Regions from separate parts of the Homo sapiens genome. Here region 1 is linked to region 2. The links are contacts of gene promoters, found by promoter capture Hi-C in human tissues and cell types (Jung and others, 2019). All regions are on one chromosome and are shown on one strand. Each heading gives the region's core, a stretch centred on a gene start or on the middle of the fragment in contact. The rest is flanking DNA. Distances are from core to core; before and after follow the strand shown. Region 1 holds the start of TRG-GCC2-4 (tRNA-Gly (anticodon GCC) 2-4). Region 2 holds the start of ZNF23 (zinc finger protein 23).

The links. Contacts are between HindIII fragments. The study calls those that stand out against the background at their distance.
Region 1: a contact is called between a fragment that was not itself captured here and the fragment with the promoter of ZNF23 in region 2, in 2 of the 25 tissues and cell types used here (IMR-90 fibroblasts and dorsolateral prefrontal cortex).

Annotation. Positions count from the first base shown.
Region 1 is chr16:70,778,859-70,781,558 of GRCh38, reverse strand. VAC14 (VAC14 component of PIKFYVE complex) reads left to right here. Exons shown (of 19, transcript NM_018052.5): 9 at 620-769. It overlaps TRG-GCC2-4 (tRNA-Gly (anticodon GCC) 2-4), which reads left to right and starts at 2,450; the gene lies at 2,450-2,520. The HindIII fragment of the contact is 5,357 bases long and covers 1-2,700 here.
Region 2 is chr16:71,460,894-71,463,593 of GRCh38, reverse strand. It overlaps ZNF23 (zinc finger protein 23), which reads left to right and starts at 1,347. Exons shown (of 5, transcript NM_001381984.1): 1 at 1,347-1,384. LOC124903709 (a long non-coding RNA gene) reads right to left here and starts at 1,282. Exons shown (of 2, transcript XR_007065105.1): 1 at 302-1,282. RefSeq lists enhancers at 1,229-1,388, 1,659-1,748. The HindIII fragment of the contact is 9,699 bases long and covers 1-2,700 here.

The sequences.
Region 1 (2,700 bases), core at 102-2,601, 680 kb after region 2:
TTAGGAAGGGGTCCTAAGAGAAGAAATAGGCGCATTTCACAGGGGCACCAGTATGACAAGGAGAGCAGGGGCTCAGTTCGGACAGCCTGTCTGCCTAACGTAGCCCTGAGACGACTGAGCTCCAGACTAGGAATACGAGGTTCAGAGAAGCCTCCCCTGGCTGGGACCACTCTATATTAACCCATTTTGCGTTGCTATAAAGGAATACCTGAGGCTGGGTAATTTATAAAGAAAAGAGGTTGCTTCAGCTCCCGGTTCTGCAGACTCTACAGGAGGCATGGTGCCAGCATCTGCTTGGCTTCTGGTGAGGCCTCAGGAAGCTTTTAGTCATGGCAGAGGCAAAGAGGAAGCCAGCAGGTCACATGGCAAGAGAGGGAGCAAGAGAGGTGGGAGGCTTTTTGAAAGAACGAGCCCCCTCATGAATAATAATAGAGCAAGAACTCACTCAACTCGCTCAGTACCATGGGGAGGGCACCAAGCCATTTGTGAGGGATCCACCCCCATGACCGAAACCCCTCCCACCAGGCCCCACCTCCAACACTGGGAATCACATTTCAGCAAGAGATTTAGAGAGACAGGCATCCAAATCAGATCACGCTCCTTACATCAGTGGACTCAGGCATCAAAGAAGTGGCCAACGTGTGCAACCAGAGCCTGATGAAGCTGGTCACCCCCGAGGACGACGAGCTGGATGAGCTGAGACCTGGGCAGAGGCAGGCAGAGCCCACCCCTGACGATGCCCTGCCAAAGCAGGAGGGCACAGCCAGTGGTGAGTGGACTCCGTCCCTACACCTCACCTCCTGTCGGGGGCCCAGGGAGCCAGATGTCATAGGAGTTGCCTTGGGGCCTCACTTAAGCAACCAGGACTACTTTATGTATGTCACTCACACAATTGTAGCAGCAACCCAGCGCAGTGGCAGCAGTGGTTCTCCCCCATTCTGCAGACAGGACACAGGGAAGCTGAGTACCATGGCCACACACTCGCAGCTAGTGAAGACTGGAACCGGATTGGAACCCAGGCAGGCTGTCTCCAGCAGCCATGATCTTAACCCTTCCTGCCTCAAAGACCATGAAGCCTTTCCTTCATCTTTTTCCTGGATTCACGGGAAAGAGTTGTTTTCAGGGCAGGAAGGTTTGGAGCATGGGAGGAGTACCAGGATTCAGGGGGCACTTGATTCTTGGCCGTAGACGTCCAGCCACCAAGAAGCCTGGCTGCCTTTACCATGCGGGTCATTCTCAGGGTGGGAGGGTTAAGAAAGCTCTAGCTTCGATTTATTCTGTACTTGAAAATTCTCTTGCCCAAATAAGTGCCTTTAAAAAGTGAAGTTGCTCTGCTCTCCTTTCAGACTCCTCTAACATAATTTTCTTGTTTAGCTGTAAGGTAAAGAAAACTGCATTATAAGAAACCACATTTATGGCCGGGCTGGGTAATCCCAGCACTTTGGGAGTCTGAGGCAATCTGCATGAACTCAGGAGTTTGAGACCAGCCTGGGCAACATGGCAAAACCCCATCTCTACCAAAAAAAAAAAAAAAAAAAAATTACAAAAATTAGCCAGATATGGTGGTGCACACCTATAGTCCCAGCTCCTCAGGAAGCTGAAGCGGGAGGATCACTTGAGCCCAGGAGCCCAGGAGGCAGAAGTTGCAGTGAGCTATGATCACACCACTGTATTCCAACCTAGGCAACAGAGAAAGACCCTATCTCAAAAAAAAAAGAAAAAAGAAACCACATTTATGCCGACTGGCATCTGGAATTTGACTCCAGATGTAATCTAGAACCCTGATGCTTTCATATTTCTTGGGTCTCTGTCCTCACCAAGAGGTCACTGATCAGCTTTGGGTTGATGTCCTCCTTTGCCGAAGCAGCCAGAGTAAACTGAGATATAACCTACTCAGATTTTTTTTTCTAGTTAAATTCCATTTATTACAAATCTAACATTTAGCAAACATCTGTTATACATCAAGCTGTGTTTACCAGACAAAGTCCTTGTGCTCCAGAGGCTTACAGTCTAGTCAAGGAGGCAAGACAGCAAAACAAGACAAATCAACCAGTGGTAAAAGAAATCACAGCATTCAGTAGAATAACCCACAAGGCCATAAAACAAGAGAAACAAGTGAATGACAGTTTCAGCTAATTTGTCAAGAAATTTTTTATAGGGAAGACTAAGCCTACTCAGATCTTTAAGGATAACAGAGTAAGGTCTGGAACCTGCCCACAGGAGCCAAAAGAATTGCTGAGCATTCTCCCATTGCCATTCATGGACTTTTCTTTTGAACAGCTGAGCAGAATGTCAAGCATGCATGCCCCACCTCCTCCCATAGGTTTGGCTGGTAAAATCCAGCAGCTGTCCATGCTGGACCCATCTCAGGTGTCAGGTTACAGCTGTGCCATCACCACTGTGAATCAGAGCAACAAAACAGCTGGAGGCAGAACAGCACTCAGCTGGAGCATTGGTGGTTCAGTGGTAGAATTCTCGCCTGCCACGCGGGAGGCCCGGGTTCGATTCCCGGCCAATGCAGCAGCTGAAAGCTTTTTGGCAGCTCCTGGAAAAAGAAAACTTGGAGAAATAAGTTAACTTGGAGGGATAAGCTAGTGCGGGCCTTCAAAGGGAGGAGCTTTTTTTACTGGGAGAAACTAGAAGACTCGGGGATACATATTTTGTGACCTCTCACTGAAATATGAGTGTTTGATTTTTGTT
Region 2 (2,700 bases), core at 98-2,597:
CTGCAGCCACCAGAGAAGACAGACATATAAATAAACTATCACCATTAAGTAAGTACACAGTGCTGTGATGGCACATAAATGAGTGTCCTGCCTTATTCTGGGTGATGAGGGAAGGCTTGCTTCCCATGCAAAATGGGATTTGAGCTCACACTTCCAGTAACAGTCAAGATGGAGGGTAGGAATGGGAAGGGAAGGGCATTCTAGATTTAGAGAACAGCATTTTTAGCATGTAGGGCTGAGGTAGAGTCAGGGAATGAATGGGAGTGATAAGAAGCCACAGAGGCAAGTGGGAGCCAAATACCAGTCTCCAGTGCAGCAGCGTTGGATGGATCAGAGCTGGAAGGAAGAAAAGCCCACATTACCAGGGTTAGGGGGTGTGTGAGGGGGTGGGGATTTTAAGGGTCGTCCAATCCAGTGGCATTTAGTACTGTCTCCCTTCCCCCAGGGCTCATTTTGGAATTTTATGGTAGGTATTTTGTTATATTTGGTGTCAGTGGTAACATTGCTACTAGCGTTGTGGATAGGAGCCAGGATCCTGCAATGTACAGGACAGTCCTGCCCACTGAAAAAATGTTCACACTTTCAAATGTCTTGCTGAACATTCAGGTAGGTGAAAATTCTATTTCTAAATTATCTGAATCTAAACCTGTTTTCTGGATAAACATGTATTTTTGCACAGTTTTAACATACACTGATCTTCCAGGAATGTAATTATTGTATAATCAAGAGACGATTGTCCTGTGTTTCATTCAGAACTTCACGAAAACATGTTTGCCATTTTGGATCATAATTTTGTGACTTTTGCAACAATGTAAGTCACAGCTTTGTGGCTGTGGCACTCAGACAACGTCTATGTGTAAAGGCGACCACCTTATTAGGTCTCCTGCAGCAGCCAAGACCAAACACATTGAAGTATGTGTTTTTAAACGACAGATGACGGTCCTCTTTTTTTTCTCTTTCATTACACTTAAGGCATAACATTAGTTTTTAATATGTAGGTGTGTATGTTATGTATGATTTTCTAGGCCATTATATATGAATATCAGGTCAGGAGAATAAGATGGACATTACAAACTATTTGTTAGAAAAAGGGGGCATTGGGTGTGACAGCGCGCCATCCACTGGTCCATTTCCAAGACTCCCACACGTGGCTGCACCTGCAGCTTCACCTCCCCGGGCTGGGTCCCCGCTTGGCTCTGATTCTTACCTGCCCCATTCCCCAGGGGTAACAGTCACCGTGGGCCAGACCCGAGCTAGCCGACAGGGATGCGGCCACAGCTGGCCGGGCGTGACCACCACCGAGGCGCAGCGACCTTGCTCCTAGAGAGGCCCGGCCGCCTGGTGACGCACTTCCGGCAGCGCCGGGGAGCAGTCCGCTACGGAGGTGAGTGCAGGGCTCCGGGCGCTGTGTGCCGTGCCCTGTCCCCCAGGCTCTGGGTCCGGTTGAGACGCACTCCCACCCTGGGTGCTGCAGGGTCTCCCGTGGCCTACGCTGCCAGGAGGCCCAGGCTGGGAGAGGGAGCAGGGCGGCGGCCCGGGGTGCTCTTCCGCGCTCCTCGACTCCAGCTTTGGTCTTTGTGGCTCAATAGCTTGCGCCCATTGGAAGGGGAAACGCACGTTGCTGTCCCAGCCACGAGGCCCTGAGCATTTAGCACTTGGTCGACGGGGGAAGATGTGTCGGTGCAGCTAAAAGATGGAATATTTGCGGGCGTGAAGCGGCCCGAGGTGATACCACAAGTCTTTTGACATGCTGAGGTCTGGCAGGAACATTAACCTATGTGCATCCCGAGTATGGACCGTGTGCTCCCAGGCTCCTGACATAGGGTCATGAATTAGGGCCGAGTGGGAGCGCAGAGCCCCTCCCAGTCACCCGGCAGCAGAAGCAGCCCGGCTTTTGGAGGACATTGTCTCCTGGAGCAGTGTCAGTCCCAAAAGGTAACTCAGCCCTGCTTCTCTCGGCTCAGGGTTGACAGTGACCTGGGAATGACTTCTACAACGTAATTACGAATTCACTCAGTTTTAGAATATATTTAGTAGTCTCAGAATCGCTAATTCATACCCCCATGAAAAGCAAATTTACTACCTAAAGTACAGTACTTGGATACAGGTCTTTTTGTCTTTACTCTTATGGTATTTAGTCAAAATACTGTTTTCCAAAGTTGCTTACCCCTTTTCTTTCCTACCACTTAAGTGTGGTTATGTTCACTGTAGTATAGTTAAGCACATTGGCTGTTCTTTGTATTACATTTTGGGTCCTCAATTTCACCCCATCCTTGCTGGTTTATATATTTATTTAAAATATATATTTATATGTTACATATATAGTAGTAAACATCCATGAACACACCACCCAATTAAGAAAGAGAAGATTGCCAGTACTGCTGAATTTATCAATGTGTTCCTCCTCCTCAACCCAACTCCCAGCCTCCAACCCCTAGAGGTAACAGTTATATTGACTTTTGTGTTAATTGTAGCCCTGTTATTTTAAAAAATAATTACATATGCATGTATCTGTAAGCAATGTACTTAAATTTTTTTTTTGAGCTTCATATAAATGGCACCATTGTGTGTATAAGTCATCTGGGACTCGCATAATTCAATGTTAAGTTTCCAAATTCATTCTGTGTGTAGCTTCTGGGTAATGTTCCATTGTAAAAACTGTATGAAAATTTATCGATGTATTTTCAATGGACATGTGGG